Regions from separate parts of the Homo sapiens genome. Here all the other regions are linked to region 1. The links are contacts of gene promoters, found by promoter capture Hi-C in blood cells and fetal thymus (Javierre and others, 2016). All regions are on one chromosome and are shown on one strand. The core of a region is centred on a gene start or on the middle of the fragment in contact, and the rest is flanking DNA. Distances in the headings are between cores, read along the strand shown.

Region 1 (4,221 bases), core at 308-2,807:
TGGAGCTGGCTTGATTTCCGCAGGCTTTAAAGTCCGCAGGGAATACAGTGACCACCTCTGGGAGGGGCAGCAAGGTTTGAATGAGAAAAGCTACAAGGAGCTGGCTTCTAAGGATGCCTCTTCAATAACAGATGGGATTAGCAGCCCCCAGCACTTTAATGAGAAGGTTTCTCCTCCTCTTCCTACTCCTTACCTGCTCAGACAATATTAATTGCCAAGTCATTGTTTGGAAACCCTATGGGGCGGAGAAGAAAGGAACGGCAGAGTCAGAGGTGGTTCTGGGCCAAACACTAGGAGAAGCCTCAGAATTTGCCTGAAACAAATGCTTAGTGCTCACAGACTGCTGTGTGCTTTCCAAGAGACAAAAGAAGAAATTCAGGATTGGTGTGGCCAGTGGAAGCTTCTCCGACCACTGGTGATCACTTTCCCAGGGGACTTGGTGGGGCAGATGAGGGCCATTTCAACTGTCTCTCTTCTCGGACCTTAAATTCAAACCAGACAGGCATTTCTGAATCTTCTGCTTCTGGGGCTGAGAGGGAATGGGGGTCAGAGATGCAACCTAATTCTCAGATCCAATTTCTGTTGCAAATGATCGAATTTGTGACTCTGGAGAAGGCCTGACGTTTGTCCATTGAGGGCTGTGCTCCGGGTCACAGCAAACCAGGGCAGACACCCTCAGCCATCTCACTTGGCTCTGTGCCTGAAGCCACCAAGGTTTCCAAAGCGGCTGGAATCCCGGTGGGGGCTCACCACCTCTCCAAACCTCTTGCTGGCCTCTGGCTTGGCTTTGGAGTGGAAGCAAAAGACTGAGAGTCCGGGATTTTCTCCCTCCGTTTCTGAGACAGCAGGATGTACTAAAAAAGCACTGACTGGTCCAGTAGAAGACCGAGGTCCAAACCCAGACTCTGTCACCAACTCACAGTGACCCTGGGGAAATCTTTTCTTACCTTTGAACCTCGATTTCCTCATCTTTAAAACGGGGACAGTGGTCTGTGCCACGTGACGCCCATCTCACAGGGATGCTCAAATAATCAAAAGAGATCGTGCAAGCCTCAGGGCTTTGTGAACGCTAAACTGTGAGAACGTGAGGGATTTTACCTCCGAGGTAACCGGGTCTGAAGCTATTACAGTAATTCACTGGCGGGGAAGGAGATGCGCTGAGCATTGCCTGGGAGTAAGCAGTCCTGGCCTCAGTTGCATCCCCAAGTCTAAGGCGGGTGCACCGGAGAAAGGGAACAAACTCAAGTCACAGAGGTGTGTGTGTCGGGGTGAGGGATCCCCGGGATGGAAGCCTCCCTCGCGCCCTCGGAGAGTCCCAGAGGGTTGGGCGGAGGCGCGCGGAGACGACAACACTGTCCCCGCGGTCGCGCGCACCGGGCGCGCGGAGGCTTCCCCGAGCCCAGGCAAGCGGCCGCGGCACAGCGCCTGATAGTCCCGAGGCTGGCCCGGGCTGCGCCGGTGCCAATCGGCGCGCAGCCCCCCGCGGCGCTCTCCCCGCCCCGCCTCCCCGCCCCCCTCCCCAGCTTCACTTGGCAGCGCGGACCCGGCTCCTGGCTGGAAAGCTACCGCCAAGCCACAGCCGAAGGCAAGCCCGAGCGGCGCCATCCCCAACCCCGCGCCGCCGACCGCCGGCCCGTGGGCGACGGGCATGCTGGCATGGCAGGACGGCGGGGCCAAGGCGGCTCCCTCCCACCACAAGATTTCTTTCTCTGTCCTGGACATCCTGGACCCACAGAAATTCACCCGCGCAGCGCTCCCTGCCGTGCGCCCGGCTCCCCGGGAAGCCAGGAAAAGTTTGGCGGAGGTCGAAGCGGGGAAAGATGCCAGCTCCAGGGACCCTGTCCGACAGCTGGAGACCCCTGGTAAGATGCAAGGCGGCCCCGGCCCCAGGAGGCCTCAGCCCCAACAATGCGGAGTGTATGGGGGAACAGCCGGGCCCGGTGAGTGGCCCTTAACAGCGTCTTCCTCAGAGAGAAGGCGCACGGGACCGGGTGCGAAGTGTAGCCCCCGCCTCGGACTTGGATAGAGGCAGAGAGGAGGCTCCCCGCATTACAGGGCAGGGATTTGCCGCATCCCTGCTCACCCGCCAAGCTCACCCGCACCACAGTTCTGATGCTCGCGGTGGAAACTTACCTGGCGCCTGTCTTGCCAGGCTTACTCATTTATCGGGCATTTAATGCGCTTGCCACGTGCTAGGACCTGGGCTAAGGGCTGGGATAAAGGTGATGAAAACTTCGGAACCTGAGAGATGGACAGCATCATTAACATCACCTCCATTTTATGGATGGGGGAGCTGACGCTAAGGCTTGCGCCGGGGGTCTTCGTGAGTAGCGAGGTCAGGTGCCACCCGGAGACGCCTGCGGGGCTGGGCTGCCCCAGGCGCTCAAGCTCCCCAGACTCAACTGTTAACTGGGACTGGGCTGGGGGCGGGGCTCGGATGGAGTGTTGGGAAGCTTTCGGTACTTTCTTCTCGAAACCCTTTCTGAATTACTCCCAACGCTGGCGGACACCTGATGAAGGGGTTAGGAAAGTTTGTGGCTGGAAGGAAGGACGGAAGACAGCAGGAGTCCTGCTGGGATCAGACAGGGAAAGGCGGCTCCCTGGAGGGTCAGAGGCTCAGGTCATCGGGGGAGGCTGGATGCCGCGCAGCCCCCTGCTCCCCTCCCCAAGTTTGGCGGTGATTGCCTGGGGCCCGGGGCGCCTCTGGCGGCCGCACTTGGGCCCAGGCAGGCGGCCTGGTAATTGTTCGGATCTTCTCTCCGAGGGGCCGCCCTCCCTTCCCCCACCCTCGTGATCGATATTCTATTACTGGCGCCTGCATATCTCCTGCCCGCAGCTTGCAGGTACCGACTTCAAACCCCCTTTCCCTGTCTGATCCTAATATTGTTCGATTAAAACTTACCTTTAATAGATGACATCTATCGATCCGGCCCCGCACAAATCTGAAACTCTATTAACACGGCGGGAGAGAGAAGATGGGAAAGGGAATTTCACTTTAAAGCGGGGGCGGGGGTGGGGTGGGGCAGAGAGCTTAATAACTTCTTTTTTAATTGCTGGGAGTCCTAGATCAAAATAGGCTTCTAGGGTCTGGGGAAGGCACAGCCCTAAAAGCGTTTGACATCTAGATGTCTTAATACAATGATCCTACCCCCCAGTATGGTTACCCAATAATGTCACTATTTTTTCTTAATGCGGGGTGTCATTCATTCATTTGGCGTACATTTCTTGGACGCCTACTTGATGGCAGATTTGTAAAGGGCAAGAGGACACCATTCCCCTAAACCCGCTGGCGAGGATGTGTAGTCCGGCCTAAGGGGAGCGCGATGTGGGGACAGGAGCAGCACCCAGAGTTGGGTTGGGGGGACAGCTGCTTGCTCTAGGGAGGACGAGGACGAGGTTTGGGGACCTGGAGAGGCTTCTGTTCACCGACCCCTTCTCCCCTAGATGCTGCGGGCCCAGGCGCCGGCCAGGCGTCCCCCCTGGAGGGTTCCGAGGCGGAAGAGGAGGAGGATGCGGAGGATCCGAGGAGGCCGCGGCTGCGGGAGCGGGCTGCGCGCTTGCTGCCGGGCCTAGCGCGCTCACCTGACGCCCCGGCCGGGGCATTGGCGTCTGGGGAGCCCTGCGAGGACGGCGGGGGCGGCCCTGTGAGGTCCCCCCCGGGATCCCCCGGCTCCCCGCGTCCCAGGCGCCGGCGCCTGGAGCCCAACTGCGCCAAGCCGCGGCGCGCGCGCACCGCCTTCACCTACGAGCAGCTGGTGGCCTTGGAGAACAAGTTCCGGGCCACGCGCTACCTGTCAGTGTGCGAGCGCCTGAACCTCGCGCTGTCTCTCAGCCTCACCGAGACGCAGGTCAAAATCTGGTTCCAGAATCGCAGGACCAAGTGGAAGAAGCAGAACCCGGGTGCCGACGGCGCGGCGCAGGTGGGGGGTGGCGCGCCCCAGCCAGGGGCGGCGGGGGGCGGCGGCGGCGGCGGCTCGGGGGGCAGTCCTGGCCCTCCCGGCACCGGCGCTCTGCACTTCCAGACTTTCCCCTCCTACTCCGCGGCCAATGTCCTCTTCCCGTCCGCCGCCTCCTTCCCGCTGACGGCTGCCGCCCCCGGGAGCCCTTTCGCGCCGTTCCTTGGGCCTTCCTACCTGACCCCCTTCTACGCCCCGCGTCTATGAATCCGGAGCCCCCTGGCCCCTCTTTCGCGGGATTCACGAGGGATTGGCATCGTCGTGT
Region 2 (4,070 bases), core at 1,021-3,520, 490 kb before region 1:
TCACTGCAACCTCCACCTCCCAGGTTCAAGCGATTCTCCTGCCTCAGCCTCCCAGGTAGCTGGGACTACAGGCATGTGCCACCATGCCCGGCTAATTTTGTATTTTTAGTAGAGACGGGGTTTCTTCATGTTGGTCAGGCTGGTCTCGAACTCCCGACCTCAGGTGACCCGCCCAACTCAATCTCCCAAAGTGCTGGGATTAACAGACCTGAGCCACTGTGCCTGGCCTTGTTCCACTTTTAAATTGAACTCAGTGATTAAAATGCAAAGAGATGGGCCGGACCCAGTGGCTTACCCCTGTAATCCTGGCACTCTGGGAGGCTGAGGTGGGTGGATCACTTGAGCACAGGAATAAGATGCCAGCCTGGGTAACAAGGTAAAACCCCGTCTCTCCAAAAAAAATACAAAAATTTGCCAGGCGTGGTGGTATGCGCCTGTAGTCCCAGCTACCCAGGAGGCTGAGGTGGGCGGATGGCTTGAGCTTAGGAAGTCAAGGCTGCAGTGAGCCATGATTGCAGCACTGCACTCCAGCCTCGCGACCCTGTCTCAAAAAAATAAATAAAATGCAAAGAGGTACAAGGATGGCTAGTCGTCTAGTCAAAAGTAGTAAGGATATGTAGAAAAAGGCAGGACCAAGAAGAAATAATGTCATAAAGACAAACATGTTGATTCATCTAACTTGTGTGTTTCAAGGAAAGAAAATATTTCAAATCAGGTGTTCTTATCCTGAGATCCACTGACTTGAAGCAACCGGGGGTTGAAATGAAGCCCTGATTCCTAAAGGATTCTATGACCTTTAGTGAGGTTTAGTGACCTTCACTGTGAGGTTAAGAACCGTCACAATGAAGTCTAGTTCATTTTCATCTATAAACCTACATGTACTATAACACCACCTTGTAGTCCAAGTATTCATAGTACACTACTCCCTGAAAAAAAAAAAAAAAAAAAAAAAAATGATTTTAAGACTGTTCCAAAGGCATACAAGCAATTAAAAGACAATCACACCCAACATAAAAGCTCACAGATATGTAAAGATTCCATTTATATGAATATCCAGAATAGGTAAATCCACAGACACCAAAAGCAGACTGGCAGTTATCAAGGGTTAGCGGGTAGGGGTAGGGGGCAGTAACTGCTTAATGGGTACATAGTTTCCTTTTGGGATGATGAAAATGTTCTGGAACAACACAGAGGTAGTGGTTACACAATGTGAATGCACTAAATGCCAAATGAGTTGTTCACTTGCAAAACGGTGAATTTTTATGTTAAATCAATTTGATCTCTAAGGAAACTAATAACAAAACCCTTTTGTATCTCCTGTTTAAATTTTTTTAACTGACAATCATACTGTATGTTGCCCCTCAATTTGGAGCAGAAAAATCAGAGGAATAAAATGGGACAACACAGACAGAAGATAGCCCGGTATGTTTTCATCCCCTCATCCTCAGGATGGGAGGAAACTAGAACTAAGACTTGCTAAGTGCCTACTAAGTCTGGAGGTCAGAAGGATTCATCTGCTGGGATATTCTTTTTTGCCAGAACAAAGCTAAAATTGAAAACTCAGGATTTCAGCTGGGCACAGCAAATTATGCCTATAATCCCAACACTTTAGGAGGCTGAGGTGGGAGAATCGCTTGAGCCCAGGAGTTCAAGACCATCCTGGGCAACATAGGTAGACCCCCATCTTTACAAATAATAATTTAAAACAATAGCAGGGCATAGTGGTACATGCTAATGGGGAGTCCCAGCTACTGGGGAGGCTGAGATGGCAGGTCACTTGAACCCAGGAGGTTGAGGCTGCAGTGAGCCATGATTGCATCACTGCCCTCTAGCCTGGGTGACAGAGTGAGATCCCATCTTGGGGCGGGGGGGGGGGGGGAATGATATATATAATTTAATTTTAAAACTCACGATTTCTTGGAAATCAATTCCTAGGACTCACAGGTTCATACACCTAAACTTTCCATATTCTTGGGCTGTACCCAGAGGGATAAATAAAAGAAATTGGTACTGAGGGAAAACATACAGCTAAGGTATAGTTAAAGCTTAGCTATTGTTCCACACAAAGTTTAAACTTAGTAATCATTCAAAATTTCCCTCATAAGACCAAATGTCAAAGCAAGCAGCCCATCCAAATAATTTAATAAAAATCAAACATCTAATCTACTCAAAAAAAAAATACTGAAGACTCAAGTCACTGCTTTTGTGAATTACATCACAATTAACTCACAAGGTCAAGAACTGAAGAAAAACTCTGCTCTCCTATGTCTCTGTCCTTTAACAGCATTTCCTGAGGAAAATGTCACAATACATATGAACCATAACTTGAAGTATGGAATCAGCTGGCTACATGTAATCAGTTCCATAAAGTTTGCAAACATTTACTACATGACATTCATGTTAAATTAACACCAGTATTTTCAAGGTCAATATGTTTGTTCAACTTCTTGGAGTCACACATTTTTGTGGTATTTTTAACATCTGACTAAAGCTTCTATCATCACAAGATGCTCACACTGTTTACAAATACTTGGAAACAGCAGCTGGTGTTCCTCAGTTACATCTTGTTACAATAAACAGAGTAGCAGTTTTAAAGTCCAGGTATATATTTTACTGCTGATGTGTAAAAACTTTGCTTTAACTTAAACGTTTCCACTGCCCCCAGTAATGGAGAGACATGAACACAATTAATTGTGGGCAATTTAGTACAAAGTTACGACAAGATCACAAATACACAAATTTTTATGTATGCATACTTGAAAGTACAGCTATCGTGCTGAATGAATCAAATGCTAGTGACTTTGCGCATATATATATACACACACACACACACACTCACATTTTTGCATGTGCGTGGAGACACAGTCTCACTATGTTACCCAAGCTGGAGTGCAAGTGCTATTCACAGACCGATCATGGCATACTACAGCCTCAAACTCCTGGTTTCAAGCAAGTGGCTAAGACCACAAACGTGTGTCAGCGCACCCAGCTCTTTTCATATCATTTTTACTACCTTTTCCCATCCCACGCAAAAAATGCAGAATACAGAAACTTACCCACACAAGCATTGAGGAAGAGCCAATCAGTCTTTTTCATCCTGTTTTTAATTTGCTTTAGTTTTTTAAAGTCTACTTCAAGTTCCTCCTTGCTTCCCACAGCACCAGCCAATTCAATCCTCTGAAAATCCATTTTCACTTCAGAGTCCCGCTTCGTAGCAGGAGGTGATCTCCTTTGGCTATTACCACTACTGCAACTTCCCCTCCATCGAGCTCTGTCTTGCTCATTTATTATTGAAGAAGCCTCTTCAGTCTCTGCCAATTCTATTGCTTCAATGTTATTAGGTCTGGGATGATCACAAACAACACATCTTTTAGCCTTGGCCCAGTTTTCATATGTGCAAACAGAGCAAGTCCAGTGCTGTGTCCTAGTGTTCAGTTTATTTCTATCATTGTATTCCTCACAAGGATCAACAGAAAAAGCAACTGGTCTTGAGCCAGATCCTGAGGACTGAGGAGATTCTGTAGGACTCCTGGTCCTACGTTGGGATAAGCACTGGGTACATCTGATTGCTCTTGGCCAGTTCAAATATGTACACATGTGGCATGACCACTTATTTGCATTTTCCATGCTATACGAAGATTTCACCCTTGGTCTTGCACTAGAGTCTGGACATATCAAAGGACTACTTCCTCCTTCGGTGCTGGAAGGATCCCAATCTCTACCAACATCACTTGAACCACTTTTAAATGGATCTTCTGTAATAATTGTTCCACTAGGTCTTTGGGCACGACACATAGTACACTTGATTGCAGATGGCCAGTTTTCATACGTACAATATTCACAAGCCCACTTAATTCCACGTTCTGACATTGTGCACTTCTTGAAGTGAGCTGTGTCAGGCAGGAAGCTATAAATAATTAGGACATGGTTATTAAAATAACTACATTCCACCTCCAAAAATACGCTGCCCAAAAAGCAAGTCCTTCAACCTACAAAATATAAATTTCTCAAAAGATGCATGCAACATTTCGACATTGAATTATCCTAATTTTCTTTTTTAATTTCCATAG
Region 3 (4,529 bases), core at 1,555-4,054, 310 kb before region 1:
CAGAATTTAAGCAAAATATTATAATGGGAAATGTTATATAAATAATTATATACAATTGAAAACATTTTTTAGGCATGAGTCCCTTAGAAAATGGTATTTGGAGTTAGATATGGGACAGTAACAGAATACACTGCCTTGCGTCACTGCCAAAGGTCTTGTTCCTGACTACTCATACTGGCTGCCACATTCTCTTTGCATAAAATAAAGCTTGTTTCACCAATCTTTTAAGGTTCTTTCTTATTTGAACTATAAATGTTCATAAAATTGTTGAAACAGATCTTGCATTTTTTCCATGATACCCCTGATTGTACAAATACTTTGTGTTATAATTTTTTTAGTGAGGGTTACCTGGAACCAGTTGCCCATGTTCTAATTTGATGTCGAAGGGACTTGACTTTATGACAGTGAATGAATGAAAACAATAACCACCCATCTTACTTCAGAAGCAATTTAAGGGAGTCTTTCTGAATCTATTCAGGTTTGGGGAGCTATCCTTTAAAAGAAAAAGTAATTCAAATTTATTATCTAAATAATTGAAAAATATCAATAACGTCAACACATAAGCATACAGATTAAAATAATTAAGACAATTTGTTTACCATCAGTGGAGTACAACCACTATTAATATTTTGGTATATTCTATTTTGAAATATAATAACTCCAATTCTGTAGGGTTAGTTCAGGGAGTTGAAAAGTTAGTCCTGGAAAATTTATACAGACAGAAAATTTTTATTATTAAATATCCAGAGCATTTGTAAAATTTTTGAAAACAAATATGGGTGTATAACTATGCATGTATCCAGGACAATGCCTGCATTTTCCAGCATTAAGAAACATCATATTATTTTATTAAAAGGAATGTCATAATTTGGAAAAGTTTTCTTACGATAAGCTTTTAATAAGCATTATAATATTCGGTTATTATGATTTGGTGAAATTAGATAACATGAATTAGGATGTATAATGAAATAGTATGATAGACCAATTGATGCAATAATATAATTTTTATTTCTGTTTTTGAAACGGTCTGTCTCTCTCTCTGTTGCCCAGGTTGGAGTACAGTGGCAGGATTTTGGCTCACTGCAGCCTTGACTTCCTGGGCTCAAGCGATCTTTTCCACTTCAGCCTCCCGAGTAGGTGGAACTACAGGCACACATCATCATGCCTGGATAATTTTTGTATTTTTAGCAGAGACGAGGTTTTGCCATGTTGTCCAGGCTGGTCTGGAACTCCTGGGCTCAAGTGATTCTCCCACCTGGCCTCCCAAAGTGCTGGGATTATACCATGCCAGGCCCTCGTTGGCATTTTAGTAAGTGACCTTCCAGCTTTATTTATTTTTTAAAAGCAAAATAATATAACATTTTATTTCATAGTTTAGGAAAACACTACATTACCTTATTTGGATCTTTACAAAATCACAGTGAATTTGATGGCGTGGGGTGGCGCATTGGCGTTAGTAGCTTAAGGCTGGGATTAGAGGCCTGAGCCATTGCACCCGGCCAGTATACATCACTTAAAACATTTTTTTCTGTTTATAAGAGTTATTTGAGCTCAAAGCATGAAAATTTAGAAAAATACAGAACCCCACCCCTGCCTCAAGAAAAAAATATTCCAAAACTAATAGGTCCATCAATGAGGGAAAACCTTGATTGGCGTTTTATTTTACTTTAATTTTAAAATTTATTTTGAGACAGAGTCTGGCTCTGTTGCCCAGGCTGGAGTGCAGTGGGATAATCTCGGCTTACCACAGCCTCCATCATCCAGGCATCTCCCACTTCAGCCTCCCAAGTAGCTGGGACTACAGGCGCACAGGCACAGGCCACCACAACGGCTTATTTTTGTATTTTTTTAGAGATGGGGTTTCGCCATGTTGCCCCGGCTGGTCTTGAATACCTAGCCTTAAGTGATAGAAAGTGCATAGAAATCAGGATCATGGTAGAGGTAACTTGACAGCCTGTCTCATTTAGTAAGTGCTGAAGCTGAGACTTCACCTAGGATTTTAGATTCCAAGTTAATTTTTTGAACCTAGGATTTGAACCTAGGATTTTAGACGCCAAGTTAATTTTTTTTAAACCATACTGTGATGCTTTGAAAGTTACTAGTTCCTTGTCTTCCAGGCCCTTTATTAGTTCGTTTAGTTTGAGTCTTCATCTTTGTTATAAATTACTGTTTTTAATTCTGCTGAAATACACATAACATACCATTTTATAACCATTTTTAAGTGTATACTTATGTGGTATTAAGTACATTTACATTTTTTTGTGCAATTGTCATCACTACCCTTCTCCAGAACTTTTTCATCTTCTACAAATTCATTTATATTTCCAAGTTATTTTGCCTTTCTGTATTAAGTGCTTTAATATGTGTGGTGTGAATTAATTAGATTACTACATATGAAGCACTCAAAATAATGCCTGGCGCTTAGCAAGAACTCAACACAGGGCCAGGCGATGTTGCTCACGCCTGTAATCCTAGCACTTTGGGAGGCTGAGGTGGGTGGATCACTTGAGATCAGGCGTTCCAGACCAGCCTGGCCAACATGGCGAAACCCTGTCTCTACTAAAATATGAAAAATTAGCCGGGTGTGGTGGTGCATAACTGTAATTCTAGCTACTTGGGAGGCTGAAGTGAGAATCGCTTGAACTCTGGAGGCAGAGGTTGCAGTGAGCTGAGCTTGTGCCACTGCACTCCAGCCTCGGTGATGGAGTGAGACTCCGTCTCAAAAAGCAAACAAACAAACAAAAAAACTCGACACATGCTAGCTGCTTCCTACAAACCAGGTGATAGAGGCTAACAGAGATACAGCTTTGCAGAGATGACAAACAGGAAGTGGAGGAAATGGGAGGTGGATGGAAAGCCTGTTTTTTCCAAATTGTTTTTGGTCTTGTCTTTTCCTTGTTAAATTCAAAGTGATTTTGGAGGAGCATACATATGCTGTACATACATAGTAGAATTGAAAAATCATGAAGTGAAATTCAGCACAATTTAGAGTTTGGAATCATAGTTTTACAAAGGGTTCAATGGTACAGTGTTAATGCATGCATATAAATACATGTAAGTATGAGACTCAATTCTTAATAAAAGTATTTAAATTTTGTCTGACAGGATTTGAACTTCTCGAAGAGCTACCAACACCCAAGTTCAGCTTTGGAGGCAGATCTGGAAACAGTGTAGCAGCATTGGTTTTCCAAAAAATGTGAGACTTTTTCTTGGACGAATTCAGGTAGCTACACAGAATCTACACAGCAAAGTTAACCTGACACAGAAAATCCTTGTGCAAATAAATGCTTAGTAAGTACACAGGATGCACATGTTGAATAGAGTATACTGGATTGGTGAAAGAAAATAATAATAATGAGCATCTAAGTGGTTGGGTTTTAGAGATCAATCAAGAATAATTTTAATTTTCTTTTGTATTTGAAATGTAAATAGTTTTCTTTTCGATTAAAAAAATTTCCTATAACTGCTAAACAGTTAAAAACTTTAAAGTAGTAAATGAGTTTATAGAAAGCATGTATTCTTGATTTTTGTGCCTTGGTAAAGTTGATAACTATTTATGAATATTTGACCAAATTATTCCAGCATCAGAATAATAAGCAAAATAACTTTGTTAGTGTTTTGTTAGACTGTTTATGAAATATAACAAGAAATACTATTTTGTGTTGGATGGCGGTTATTTTTAAACTTAATTAATACCTGTGAAAAGGCCTCTTACCTTTATGTATATAATTAAACAAAATCAGAGAAATGTATCAGTTGCTCAAGTTATCAAGCCTGCATTTTGCAGCTATGGTCTTCTACACACTGTAAGGGTAGTAGAAGGAAAGAGAACTAAGGAATGTTATTATTTGCTAGCGCTATGTTAAGTTGTCTTATTAAGTAATTGAGTCCTTTCAATGTCTTCTTGAGGTATGTATTGCTTGTTCTTGTTTCTACGTATAAGGAAAATGAAGCTGAGAGAAGTGAAGTCACTTTTATGAGGTTCAACAGTACAGGATGGAGCCAGGATTTTTATCTGGGTCTGTCTGACTTTAAAACACATACTCTTCTCCTAGCATATTCTGCCTCACAGGTGCTTAGTCTTTGCCTTTGTAGCATTTACAGTACAGCTGGAGACCCATGATGATTACATATAAAGTTCAGTTAGAAAAGATGGGTAGTTACTTTATTAGTGTTCATCTGTGGAGTATCAGAATAGCAGTCAGCCAACTCTGTCTCATATCATCCTTCATTACTTTTCCCCATCTCCCTACTCAAAGACTTGCCTCTATTAAGAATTTTGTCATTCTTCTGTGAAAGGGTAGTGTAAGTTATATAAGCCCTCAGCGATACATGCACAAAGATGTTCTAGTTAGGGGCTAATTTGGCAAGAGAAACAGTTTATTAATGTTTTTGAAAAGATAAGTCATATTCATACTTAATACCATTTTGTATTTGTGGTAATATTTTAATATTGGAGCTAAATACAAATTTTTGCATAATTTTTTGATGATTTTCAGCTTTGTGGGCCTATTGGGTTACATAAGTGA
Region 4 (3,927 bases), core at 1,256-3,755, 470 kb after region 1:
AATAGAAGCTTATTTTTTCAACATGATTTTTATCCCTTCTTTATGTGTTTAATCATTTAAAATGTATTTGGTATATAATTTGATTTGGGCTATTCTGTCATCACAAGTGTCTGGGGGATCTAATTATGCTGTTGATTGTATCTGCTGACTTCCCTTATTGTGAATTGTTTCTTTGTGTAGTTTGTGATTTTAAAAAAATCATTGGAAGTTTTCTTCAGCTGGTGTTGCCATTGTTTTCCCCTGTGGGAGTCTCATGTGGCCTGGCATTGAAGATGTCTTTAGAAAAGGAGTTCTCTTTGCTTTAGTTTTGGAGCCAAGGGATCACTCTTCTGAAATTCATTATATATATATAAATATATTGTATATAATATAATTATATTTTATAAATATATCATATATATGTAATTATATTTTATAAAAATATCTATATAATTGATTATATTTTATTTATAATTATATTTTATATATATTTGGTTTGGGATTTCCTTACTTTGTGGGAAGTATAAATTAAAACTTTACATCTGATTGGGATGGAATGAGTTTGGAGTTTCCATTTCCAGTGGGATATTTTTCCCCTTTGCTTTTTCTGTGCAGTCAAGCTTGGTTCTGGAGATTTTGCTTGAGTTTTTCTAGTTCCTCTTATAAGAAGGGGGCAGTCTTCCAGGGTCTCAACTCTACTCAGAGTTCTTAGTTCACCTCTGCCTCATGCAGGTCAAAGTCATATTCCGTTTCTCCTAATCAGCATCAAAACCCAGCTGTGAGCCCTTAGGACATGTGTTCACATTTGATGTTTCCCTGGGCTCCTGGTGTGTTGGCTCATGGATTACCCGCTGGCTGTAGTTTCTATTTTATTTCTGTTCAAGAAGTGTCTTTTTTCCTTCCTTCAAGTTTTCCTATGAATTAAAAGGACATTGACATATATTTGGAGGCAGAGATTGCTAGCATAGCAGAAAAGGAGATTTCCTAATTAACTTTTTGTTATTAATTTCTAGATTAATTTCACAGTGGTCAGAGGGTTAATTTCACAGTTGTCAAGAGTGATTCAAATCCCTTGAAATCTGTTGAGAATTGTTTTATGACCCAGCATATGACTGATTTTATTAAATGTTATGTGTGCACTTAAAAAGAATGCATATTCTGTCATTGTAGGATACAGTGTTAATTAGGTCAGGCTAATTGTGCTATTACTGATTTTCTGTTTGCATTTCTATCATATATTGAGAGGAGTGTGTTTGTGCCTCTGAATATTATTGTGAATTTGTCTCTTTTTCTTTTTTAGTTCTGTCTGTTTTTGCTTTATGAGTGGATTGATCCTTTTATCATTGCAAAGCAACTGCTTTATGTCTAGCAATGCTTCTTACCTTCCAGTCTACTTTTCTGATATTAGAATAATGATACCAGCTTTCTTTTGTTTAGTGTTTATCTGGCATAGCTTTTTTCAACTTTGACTTTCATCCTTTTTTGCTTTTGAGGTGGGTCTCCTGTAACCAGTATATACTTGAGTTAATAAAATCAGATCTGACTATTTTGGTCTTACTTGAAGTATTTAGTCAATTTATATTTGACATAATTATTAATATATTAGAATTTATAGTTACCATTTTACTTTTTGTGTTGTACCCATTTTATGTTGCTTTTCCATGTCTTGGGTTTTTTTTTTACTTTCTTTTGGATGAATAGTTTTATTATTCTATTTTCCCTATATAAACTTGGTACTTAAGTATTTTAGTAACTACTGTAAATGTTGCAACATGTATCCTTGATTTAATATTGTCTAATATAATTTAGGACTTTTATTTCTTTTACACAATGTTGAGACCTTAGAATACTTTATTGCTCCCATTCTTTTCCTTTACTCTTGTCAATATATATTTTAAATCCCACTAGACATCATTTTTGATGTTTCGTATGGTTAATATTTATTTATATTTACATATATACTCTTTCTGTAGCTTTCAATTTCTTCATGCATTTCAGTTTTTAAATCTGGGTTCTTTTCCTTTGTCTGAAGAATTTCTATTGGCATTTATTTTACACTGGGTTTTTCTGTTTTGGTGTCTTTAAATAATATTTTCCCTTCATTTTTGAAAGATGTTTTGGAAATTGCCTTTGCAAAAATTAGAACAGTGAGAAAATTATGATAGTGAAAGATCTAATCAACTCCATCTTGCTTTTAACCTCCAAACTGCCCTTGGCCATTCCTGAGCATGGGCCAGACTAACTTTGGGAGACTAAAACATAATAGCTCTTCCCAAAACTAAGCCACCTTTGCAAAACTAATGAAAGGCAACCAGGTTAGGAAGATTAGAGGGACCTGAATTCTGCTAAGATGCAGGCATAGTTAAATGATTACCAGCCATTATTCTGGAAGTCACAAGATTTGCAACTTCTTCAATGACTCCTGTAAAGAGCATCACTATTGTAGACCCTCAGATTGCCCTTTTAAGATGTCTTTTCAGACTTTTGCATTTCTGATGACTAGATGACTCCAACTGGATCAGCAACTCCTCTCTGGCTCCCACCCAGAAGTGAACTCAGCACATGAGGACCACTTACCACACCACTATGATTGCATCACTAACTCATCAGCAGCACTCATTCCCTATCCCCCTGCTCACCAAACTATCTTTACAAAACCCTAGCCTCCAATTTTTGGAGAGGCTAATTTGAATAGTAGTAAAACTACAGTCCGTGTTTAGCTGGCTCTACATATATTGAACTCTTTCTCTATTGCAATTCCCCATCTTGATACATTGGCTGTATCTGTGTGGGCAGTGGGCAAGATTAACCTATTGAGCTGTTACACTTTCATTGAATATAGAATTTCAGGTTAGTTTTACTACCTTCCAGCTCTTTAAACATATCATTTCTGAAAAGCCAATCTTCAGTCTTACTGTTGCTCCATTGAAGGTAATCTGTCGTTCCTCTCCTGCTGTGTTCACAATTTCCTTTTTTATCTTTGTTTTTCAGCTATACTAAAGTAAAATTTATTTTATATATACTTTGCTTAGAGTATGTAAAGATTTTTAATTTGTGGACTAATGTCTTTCCTCAGTTTTGGAAAATTGTCAGGTATTAGTTCTTCAAATATTTCCTTATCCCATTATCTCTTTCCTCTCTATCTGAGGCTGCAATTACACTAATGTTAGACCTTTACACTGCTGTCTATGTCCTTTATGTTCTCTTTTGTATTTTCTATCTTCTTTTCTTCTGTGTTTCAATCTTAATTTTTTAGATTGCTGTATTTCCTAATTCACTAATCTTTTTTGCTGTTTCTAATCTATTCATAATAGATTATTAATAATAACAGATTACATTAATAATAAATCCACCTACTGAATTCTTTAGTTTTTGCAATTTTTAGTTCTTAAAATTTTCATTTAGTTCCTTTCATAGTTTTCAATTGTCTGATGAAATTCTATTTTCATCCATCTATCTTTTTCTATATTGTCTTTACCATATTAATAACAGTTCACTTAAGCCCTTATCAGCTAAGTCCAATATCTGAATCACCTGTGGGTTGATTTCCCATATCTAAATATTCCCCCTGATATTTGACCATTTAGTCTTGTCTCTTGGTATGCCTACATTTTTTATTGAATGCTGGACATTGTTCATCCTTTCCTCTGATAGGTAGATATACTGTATTAGCCTGTTCTTGCGCTGCTAATAAAGACATACCCAAGACTGGGTAATTTATAAAGGAAAGAGGTTTAATTGACTCACAATTCCACATGGCTGGGGAGGCCTCACGATCGTGGCAGAAGGCAAATGAGGAGAAAAGTCACATCTTACATGGAGGCAGTCAAAAAAAGAGCTTGTGCAGGAGTCCCATTTATAAAACCATCAGATCTCATGAGACTTATTCACTATCACAAGAACAGCATGGGAAAGACCCATCCCCATGATTCAGTTACCTCCCATCAG
Region 5 (4,416 bases), core at 554-3,053, 370 kb before region 1:
AAATGTTCATAGTAGCTTTATGTGCAAAAGCCCCACCCTGGAACAACCCAAGCGTCCATGAGCAGGAGCATGGATAAACAGACTGTGCTTCAGGCATATGCTGGAATCCTACTTAGTGATAAAAAGGAACATGAATGAGTCCTAAAATAACTATCCTGAGTGAAAGAAGCTAGACACCTCCTCACTAAAAGAAGTATAGGTTATAGGATTCTATTTGTACAAAATTCTAGAAAATGAAAACTAATCTAGTGACATAAAGAAGATCAGTGGTTAACAGGAATGAGGGGAGAAGGCAGGACTGGAAAGGCACGAGGAAGCTTTTGTAGGTGAAGGAGATGCTCGTTATCTTAATATGGTGATGGTTTCACAAGTTTACACATACATCAAACTTCTAAGAGCATACATTTGAGATATGTGTTATATGTCAATTTTACCTCAACAAATCTATTTTAAAAGTTTAGCTTTTTCAGCTCTAACTATAGCATAACTAAACTGGCTAATGAAACTGTTATGCACTCTGGAAGAATACTTCTCATAATGTGATTTGTTGGTCATCAGGAAGACAGATGACTTCAGAGATATCTGAAAGACTGCTAAAGTGCAGATTCCTGGACCCCATCCCTAAAGTGCAGATTCCTGGACCCCACCCAAATCTGCAGAATCAGAACCTCTCAAGATAGAGCCAGGAATCTGAATTTAAGTAAGTTTCTGAATTTTTCTTTTGCATACTGAAATTTAAAAACATCTGTTTTCAAAACATTTAATTCTTTATTAGAAGATCAATCTTCATACAGCTTCCTTCTTTGAAACCAACTCTGAGTTAAAATCTTGTTTTAAGAAGCAAAGGTAGTTTAAATCTAATAGTGTCATATTAAAATTAAAATTAATAGTAAATTGAGATTGTTTTGACATTTTCATGTAGAAAGTAAGCCAACTTTTGCTGAGGCTAGCATTGTCACAAATATTTTCACTAATTACTACACCACTCTAAGTGAATAATGTTTTCTCCATTGAGTTCATATCATATGCAAAGAACTACAGAGAACAAAGAAATAAGCAATAGTTCCTGACTTAAGGAGTACTACTGAACATAAAACATATCTTCCCATAGATTAAAGCAATTAATTCTGATATCCCTTAAATAAAAAGAAAACCCAAGCCTTTCTCTCAGGGTATAATTTTTTTTTTTTTTTTTTTTTTGAGACAGAGTCTTGCTTTGTCACTCAGGCTAGAGTGCAGTGGCATGATCTCGGCTCACAGCAACCTCCACCTCCTGGGTTCAAGCGATTCCCCTGCTTCAGCCTCCCGAGCAGCTGGTATTACAGGCATGTGCCACCGCGCCTGGCTAATTTATTTTTAGTAGAGATGAGGTTTCACCATGTTGGCTAGGTGGGTCTTGAACTCCTGACCTCAAGTGATCCACCCGCCTCAGCCTCCTAAAGTGCTGGGATTACAGGCATTGAGCCACTGTGCCTGGCCTCAGTATATAATCTGATAGAAGAGATGTTTTGTCCGAAGTTACAGAGCTCATGAGTGACAGCCAAGATGTGGAATCAAGATGCCTGCCTGTTTCCACTGGGCAACACTAACTTTCACATTCTACACTAGACATGATGGTGGCCATAAAAAAGGTAAAAGTAGTTTTCCTTTCAAGAAAACTTGGATACAATTAGATAGAGCTATTGATGCAGGTGAACATAGCACATTTCATTCTAAGATTCAATACTCTGTACCCAACTCCTACTTGGAATGTTGGAATTACCTACTCAGCAGACCTCAGGCATGCCCTGCACTTCCCCTGCCTTCCTGCAAAGACCTGAACAGTGCTCAGCACACTGGCTGTTTTCATGAAATACTCATTGACTAGCAGAATCTTGCAAGGTGGCTATTGGATGACTAATAGTGCTTTTCAGTTATGCCAATTCGAACTATTTTATTTCATTTTTTTTCCTAGCTGCCTTTGTTTTGTTTTTTTTTTTTTTTGGTTTTTGAGATGGAGTCTTGCTCTGTGGCCCAGGCTGGAGAGCAGTGGCGCGATCTTGGCTCAAGCAACCTCCACCTCCTAGGTTCAAGCAATTCTCATGCCTCAGCCTCCTAAGTAGCTGGGATTACAGGAGTGTATTGCCACAACCAGCTGCATTTTTAGTAAAGATGGGATTTTACCATGTTGGCCAGGCTGGTCTCGAACTGCTGACCTCCAGTGATCTGCCAGCCTCGGCCTCCCAAAGTGCTGGCATTACAGGCGTGAGCCACAGTGCCTGGCATATAACAGCTTATTGATTTGATAGATGCCAACAGTTCTAAATAGATTCTCCTGGCTGGGTGTGGTGACTCACTACTGTAATCCAAGCACTTTGGGAGGCCAAGGCAGGAGGATCACTTGAGCCCAGGAGTTTGAGCCCGGCCTGAGCCAGATAGCAAGACCCCATCTCTACAAAAAATTTAAAAAGCACACGCCTGTGGTCCTAGCTACCCAGGAGGCTGAGGCAGGGGGATCACTTGAGCCCAGGAGGGCCAGGCTACAGTGAGCTGTGATCATGCCATTGTACCAGGGTGGCTAACAGAGCAAGACTCTGTCTCAAAAAACAAAACAAAACAAAACAAAACAGATTCTCCTGTCATTCTCATCAATGAAGGATGAGATGCCAAATTAATGTGTATTGGTGATATCTTTGATTCTACCTTTTAGAGCTAACGAACAAACTAGTTGCAAAGCTACTGAGAAACTAAGTCACTGATGTTGAAAAGCACATTTTGCATAGCTATATTTGGGACATGATGAAGAATTATGGATATCTTTCCCTAAAACCTTGTCTCTGCTTATGTTTCTCGGCCAATTTTTCACACAGACTATTCTATCCACAGACCACAGACTATTCTCTATGCTAGGCATTTGCTTACATTTTCATCCCAATATGGGCACGTTTATTGTCTTTAGCTTGTGTTCTTTTGGCCTTATGATGATACAAGGATGGCTGTTTCAGTTACTGTTATCAATTTCAGAGCTTCCGGAAAGCACGAATCCTCCTTACTTGCTTTGTTTGGCCTTAGCCTAAAACCTGAGGCTTGTGCAAACATTGTAAGCACGTATGGATTCTGCCAGAACAGTAATTCAGCCTGTGACCAAACTGTACCTACTGGCAGATTTTCTTATCAAAAACATTAGCCTCTATCTTAAGCCTAACATTTTACATGTACCTTGTGGGTCATATAACCACCCTTTTGAGGTAATGATAAAATTTTGTACTTATCCTAGGGGAAAAAATCCAAACAAGAATTATAAAGCTTTTTTTTGAAATCTAAGTGTTATATATCATCTCTGTCTTTGTGCTGGAAATTCAGATTTTTGAAAAAAATCCTTACAGAGTTCATACTTTATATAAGGTACCAAAGGAAATATATAGCTCCCACTCTCAACAAATATCAAGGAAATGAAACATATTTTCCAAGTAAAATGAAACAACAAACTCATATCACTAATTGCAAAGGAGAACACGAACATTTGTTTTAGCACAAAATTCTATAAAATCAAAACTATAGACCAACTTTTAACTGTTTTGAGACTCTTGGCCGCAGAAAAAGCAGTCAACTCTAGATAGCAACCAACGAGTGGCCTTCTGTGTCTCAAACAGCAAACCTCCTTAAAAATGCCAAAATTAATTTACAAATGTGTCCCTACCTACTAGTGAAAAGACTACATAATAGAGTCTTTTTTTTTTTTTTTTTGAGTTGGAGTCTTGCTCTGTCGCCCAGGCTGGAGCGCAATGATGCAATCTCAGCTCACTGCAACCTCCACCTCCCGGGTTCAAACCATTCTCCTGCCTCAGGCTTCCGAGTAGCTGGGATTACAGGCATCCGCCATCATGCCCAGCTAATTTTTGTATTTTTGTAGAGACAGGGTTTTGCCATGTCAGCCAGGCAGGTCTTGAACTCCTGACCTCAGGTGATCCATCTGCCTCGGCCTCCCAAAGTGCTGGGATTACAGGCATGAGCCACCGAGCCCGGCTGTAGAATCTTTGTTTTCAATTTATTTTCAATTATAAAATACATAGTCATTAAAAGAAAAAAAAACCTTATCAAATAAATTCTTCCTTCATCAATAGATACCTGCACCCTTTATTCACTCCCTTTCCCAAGTCTGACTAGCATCCTTTCAGATCGTTTCCTGTGTATTTGAACACCCACTCAGGCTTTTGTTGTTATATAAAATGGGCTCAAACTACAATCTGCTTTTTTTCATGTAACATAACTTAGAGATCTTTCTATGTCATTACATGAAAACCTCTCTCCTTCTTTGTAAGGACTGCTTCATCTCCCATAGTATGGAAGCGCCAACAGAACTGATTTCACTGTTCCCCACTGCTGGACATTTAGGTTGCTTTCAAAATCCCCCCTACAAAATAACCAAACAACAAA
Region 6 (4,448 bases), core at 1,807-4,306, 450 kb after region 1:
CTGGTCTGGCCAGGGCCAGTGAAGGGACCATAGTGAGGCAAAGGTGCTGGTCTGGCCAGGGCCAGGGAAGGGACCATAGTAAGGTGATCTCACTTGGTCATAGTAAGGAGACCAATGGTGGATCCTGCCTCATAGGATCCACCATTCTCCCGGCTCTGCCCCCTCATCTTGACCACTCTTGTATTAGTTTGGTTGACTATTTTCTGTATTTTATGATCCTTTGACATCTTGCTGGCCTGGGAAGGACTGCCCTCTCGGGACTAGCTAACCCCTAGATATAGAGGCACTTGGAGCACACCTTTTGTGTGCAAAACGGCCAATCCCAGCCCACCCCGACCATCTCCCTTCCTGAGCACTTGCAGTGGGCAATGCAGCTCCCCAGTCGCCCCGCGGGCCAGGGGCCAGAAACTTGGAAGCCCAGACACTCTGAGCCCCATAAAATTATTCAAACTCAGCTCTAGCCCTGCATAGCCCAGTTGCTGTTTGTCCATTTCTTCCTGTGAAAACCACAGCAAAGGCTCTGGCTCACCATTTCCCCAGGGCTCTCTCTGCCTCCTCCCCTCGGTGCTTCCCAGTGGCCCCACATAGCCCGGTGTGTCTCTTCCTCTTGGGAACTGTGAGTAACAAACCATTGTGCCAAAGGCAATCTTTTTTTTTTTTTTTTTTTTTGAGACAGGGTTTCACTCCGATGCCCAGGCTGGAGTGCAGTGGTACCATCTCGGCTCACTGCAGCCTCAACCTCCAGGGCTCAGGTGATCCTCCCACCTTAGCCTCCTGAGTAGCTGGGACTAAAGGCACCTGCTATCATGCCCAGCTAACTTTGTGTATTTTTTTGTAGAGACAGGGTTTCGCTATGTTGCCTAGGATGGTCTTGAACTCCTGGGCTCAAGCAATCCACCCACCTCAGTTCCTCAAAGTGCTGGGATTATAGGCATGAGCCACTGAGCCCGGCTAAAGACAATCTTCTGAGCTGTTGGTCTCACTTTACCCGAATAACAGTGAAACCTATGCTTCAACACCCCCCACCCCCGCACCACTCCCGCATGGTGGTGAGAGCCGGGGCCAAGGCCCTCCTGGCACCTCCACTGTCACTTTTCCCCTGCAGTCCTTCAAACCATGTCACTCTCTTCCTTGAAACCCTCCCCAACCCCCCAACACACCTAGGATAAAAGGCCAAGACCTGCTCATGGCCCTCGAGGCCCTCCCTGGGTTCTACCCTGCCCTGCTGACCTCTGAGACCTCAGCTGCCCGCACTCACCTCAGCCCTGGCTATGCTGACCTCACCGCCATGCTCAGCACACCAAGCCCTTCCCTGTACTGGCCTGTGACCCTGGGGTGCCCTGCCTGGCACACCCTTCCCTGACCCTGGCCAGGCTGGCACCTTCGCCTCACTACGGTCCCTTCGCTGGCCCTGGCCAGACCAGCACCTTTGCCTCACTACGGTCCCTTCCCTGACCCTGGCCAGGCCGGCACCTTCGCCTCACTACGGTCCCTTCCCTGACCCTGGCCAGGCCAGTGCCTTCGCCTCACTACGGTCCCTTCCCTGACCCTGGCCAGGCTGGCACCTTCGCCTCACTACGGTCCCTTCCCTGACCCTGGCCAGGCTGGCACCTTCGCCTCACTACGGTCCCTTCCCTGACCCTGGCCAGGCCGGCACCTTCGCCTCACTACGGTCCCTTCCCTGACCCTGGCCAGGCCAGTGCCTTCGCCTCACTACGGTCCCTTCCCTGACCACTTACACAAAATAATACCTCTCCTGCATGGCCAGCCTCCCTGCTTGATTTGCTCACAGCTGTCACCTGAGACTGGACCATCTGTGTGTCTGCTGCTGCTTCAGCAGCCCTCTGCCCATCAGGGACCTCCGCTCCTTGAGGTGGGAACTCTGTTCATGGCTGCAGCCTCAGAGCCTGAATCAGTGACTGCACATAATACTCACTCAACAAACTTAGATGGGGCAAAGGCATGTGTGATGATGCTGTAGAGCAGGCAATCCCCCACCCCTCGGGCATGGGCCAGTAGCAGTCCTGGGCTACACAGCGGGAGGTGAGAAGCAAAGCTTCATCTCTATTTACAGCTGCTCCCCATCGCTCACATTACCACCTGAGCTCCACCTCCTAGTGGTAACGTTGGATTCTCATAGCAGCTCCAACCCTATTGTGAACTGTGCATGTGAGGGATCTAGGTGGCACATTCCTTACGAGAATCTAAGATCTGTTGCTGTCTCCCATCACCCCCAGATGGGACCACCTAGTTGCAGGAAAACAAATTCAGGGCTCCCACTGATTCTACATGATGGTGAGTTGTAGAATTATTTCATTACGTATTTCAGTATAGTAATAATAGAAATGAAGTGCACAATACATGTAATGAGCTTGAATCATCCCAAACCATCCCCCCCACCAAACTGTGGAAAAACTGTCTTCCATGTAACTGGTCCCTGGTGCCAAAAAGTTGGGGCCTGCCGCTCTGGAGTGTGAAGCAGGGAAAGAGGACCTCACCGTAAGGGCCAGGCTCACTTTCCTAAGGAAGGAACAGGGAGAGCCTAGAAGAATGCAGGCCTTGTGCAAATGTCAGAACCTCCAGCAGAGGAGAGGTCTGCAGGGTGCATGGGGGCTGTGACCCAGATGGCATCAGGAAAGAGGTGGCGTTAAGCTGAGCCCTAAAGACTGGCAGGATCTAGAAAGGTGGGCAGGCATGCCGAGAGGAGGGGCTGGGGTGAGCAGGGGCAGGGAGCAGGGAAGGCCAAAAGAGCAGGGAAGGTCTCAGTGCCTCCGGAAAGGAGTATACGAACATTCTGGGCTTTGGAGTCAGGGAGACCTGGACTACAATCCTGGCTCTGCCATTGTCCTCTGTGTGACCTTAGGCAGAGGGTTTGATGCTACTGAGCCTCTGTTTTCTTATCTGCAGAATGGGTATGCACTCAGACTCAGGCCCTTATGGCGATAAGGGTTCACGCATGTAATACCCTCCACATGGCATCTGGACCCTGGAGGTGGGGGCAGGTCACCTCAGCAATGGTCCTCAGGCACGATTGTTGTAGCAGTAGGAGGTGAAGCCACCCAGGTAAGTGGGCACAAGGTCAAAGAGGGTTTGGGTCTCAGGGTAAATGCCTTTGGTTGAACTAGTGGTGTATTGAGCTTCCCACACTGACATTTTCTGAGCAGAGGAATTATTGGTTAGCGCAGGGATTTAGGTCATTAATTTGGAGCAGGTAGAAGTGCCTGGAAATGGAAGGACTAAGGCTGAGGCTTCTATGGTCCAAGTGAGTGATCACAGGGGCTGGGAGTAGGAAGCACGGCTGAAGGGCCATCTCAAAGGCACTGTACCAATGGGATGGTGACATCACTACTGACGGCACCCACAGAGCTGGGGTATATGTATGCTTATGTGTAACTTCCCATTTTACAGAAAAGGAAGCTGGGGCTCAGGGAGGTTAGGTGACTGCTCCAAGGTCACACACTTAGTACTGGACCCAGTGTTGGAACCCACCAAATCTGACCCATCTTGTGCTTGTCACTAACTGAAGGATGTGGCAGGCAATGGAGGCAAGGTCAAAGGCAAAGTCAAGCCCCAAATGGTCAAAGACAAGGATTAGACTTGGAGCTGGTGTCCAGCCTGAGGGTGGAGGGGTGAGGGACATTTACCGTAGCAGGGGAAGGCTGGGTCGAGTCAACGTTCTTGCAACATCCGTAATTGCAGCGTTAGCTGGGCAAGTTAGATGGGTGGGGAAGTCCTACTTAACCACATAGACATTTCTTAAACATTTTATTTTTACTTCAAATATGTGAAGTACAGCACATCTATTTGTCTGCCTTTTGGTATGGAGCCAAAACCTTTTCTCTGAGCATGAGCCCACTGATTGGAGCTCTGGGTCATCTCTGTGGCAGAAACCACAGAGCAGTGAATCAGCACTGATTTCTGGTTTCAGTGTTTCTAAAGGGACATGAGAACTGGAAGGCGCTTGCAAGGCAATCTCGAGGCAGAGTCCTTCATTATTTGTGTGATTATTTTCCCCAAATCATTACCCTCATCTGTGCTGGGACTTTCCAAAGCTTCCAGCCTAGCATTCAGGGAGCAGCTCCCTTTCTGCATTAATATTTCATCAGCTTCCCTCAGTGGCTCTCCGAGAGTGGCCCAGGGACCACTTGCGACCCTTTCAGGGAATCCAAAGTCCAAATTCTTTTCACGGTCAAACTGAGATGTTGTTTGCCCTTGATGCTCTCATTTTCTCCAGAAGGTACAAATAAAGATTTTCAGAGCCCCCAGCCCCCAGCCCTGGCCTCTGACAGCCGACGGAATGCGTGCTTGTGTGTCTCTGTGCTTTGAAAGTCTCTCATCTTTAATTTTGAAGATAGTCAATATCAATCAATGCAAGCCACTGAAACAAAAGCTGTTTGGGATCTTCAATGATTTTTAAGAGTATAAAGGAATCTTTAAACAGTTTGAGG

What was found. Contacts are between HindIII fragments. The CHiCAGO score rates a contact against its expected background, and 5 or more counts as called.
Region 2: a fragment that was not itself captured here is called in contact with the fragment with the promoter of NKX1-2 in region 1 in 1 of 17 cell types (activated CD4 T cells); the score reaches 5.4 in activated CD4 T cells.
Region 3: a fragment that was not itself captured here is called in contact with the fragment with the promoter of NKX1-2 in region 1 in 2 of 17 cell types (total B cells and naive B cells); the score reaches 6.9 in total B cells.
Region 4: a contact is called between a fragment that was not itself captured here and the fragment with the promoter of NKX1-2 in region 1, in 3 of 17 cell types (neutrophils, monocytes and naive B cells). The highest score is 7.4, in neutrophils.
Region 5: a fragment that was not itself captured here is called in contact with the fragment with the promoter of NKX1-2 in region 1 in 2 of 17 cell types (activated CD4 T cells and non-activated CD4 T cells); the score reaches 5.7 in activated CD4 T cells.
Region 6: a fragment that was not itself captured here is called in contact with the fragment with the promoter of NKX1-2 in region 1 in 1 of 17 cell types (naive B cells); the score reaches 5.2 in naive B cells.

Annotation. Positions count from the first base shown.
Region 1 is chr10:124,447,371-124,451,591 of GRCh38, reverse strand. It overlaps NKX1-2 (NK1 homeobox 2), which reads left to right and starts at 1,557. Exons shown (of 2, transcript NM_001146340.3): 1 at 1,557-1,862; 2 at 3,445-4,221. The coding sequence starts at 1,649. The coding sequence ends at 4,163. RefSeq lists enhancers at 1-132, 133-688, 4,005-4,221. The HindIII fragment of the contact is 2,053 bases long and covers 403-2,455 here.
Region 2 is chr10:124,942,294-124,946,363 of GRCh38, reverse strand. ZRANB1 (zinc finger RANBP2-type containing 1) reads right to left here. Exons shown (of 9, transcript NM_017580.3): 1 at 3,057-4,070. The coding sequence starts at 3,870. Among named protein-coding and RNA genes, the nearest start is that of ZRANB1, 2.2 kb to the right of the region's middle. The HindIII fragment of the contact is 446 bases long and covers 2,048-2,493 here.
Region 3 is chr10:124,759,080-124,763,608 of GRCh38, reverse strand. It overlaps EEF1AKMT2 (EEF1A lysine methyltransferase 2), which reads left to right. Exons shown (of 7, transcript NM_212554.4): 6 at 1,051-1,309; 7 at 3,106-4,529. The coding sequence ends at 3,106. Among named protein-coding and RNA genes, the nearest start is that of FAM53B, 17 kb to the right of the region's middle. The HindIII fragment of the contact is 3,819 bases long and covers 895-4,529 here.
Region 4 is chr10:123,977,013-123,980,939 of GRCh38, reverse strand. No RefSeq gene overlaps it. Among named protein-coding and RNA genes, the nearest start is that of CPXM2, 87 kb to the right of the region's middle. The HindIII fragment of the contact is 3,808 bases long and covers 602-3,927 here.
Region 5 is chr10:124,822,102-124,826,517 of GRCh38, reverse strand. The region is part of intron 4 of ABRAXAS2 (abraxas 2, BRISC complex subunit); the gene reads right to left. Among named protein-coding and RNA genes, the nearest start is that of ABRAXAS2, 22 kb to the right of the region's middle. The HindIII fragment of the contact is 2,968 bases long and covers 320-3,287 here.
Region 6 is chr10:123,996,994-124,001,441 of GRCh38, reverse strand. No RefSeq gene overlaps it. Among named protein-coding and RNA genes, the nearest start is that of CHST15, 94 kb to the left of the region's middle. The HindIII fragment of the contact is 1,996 bases long and covers 2,059-4,054 here.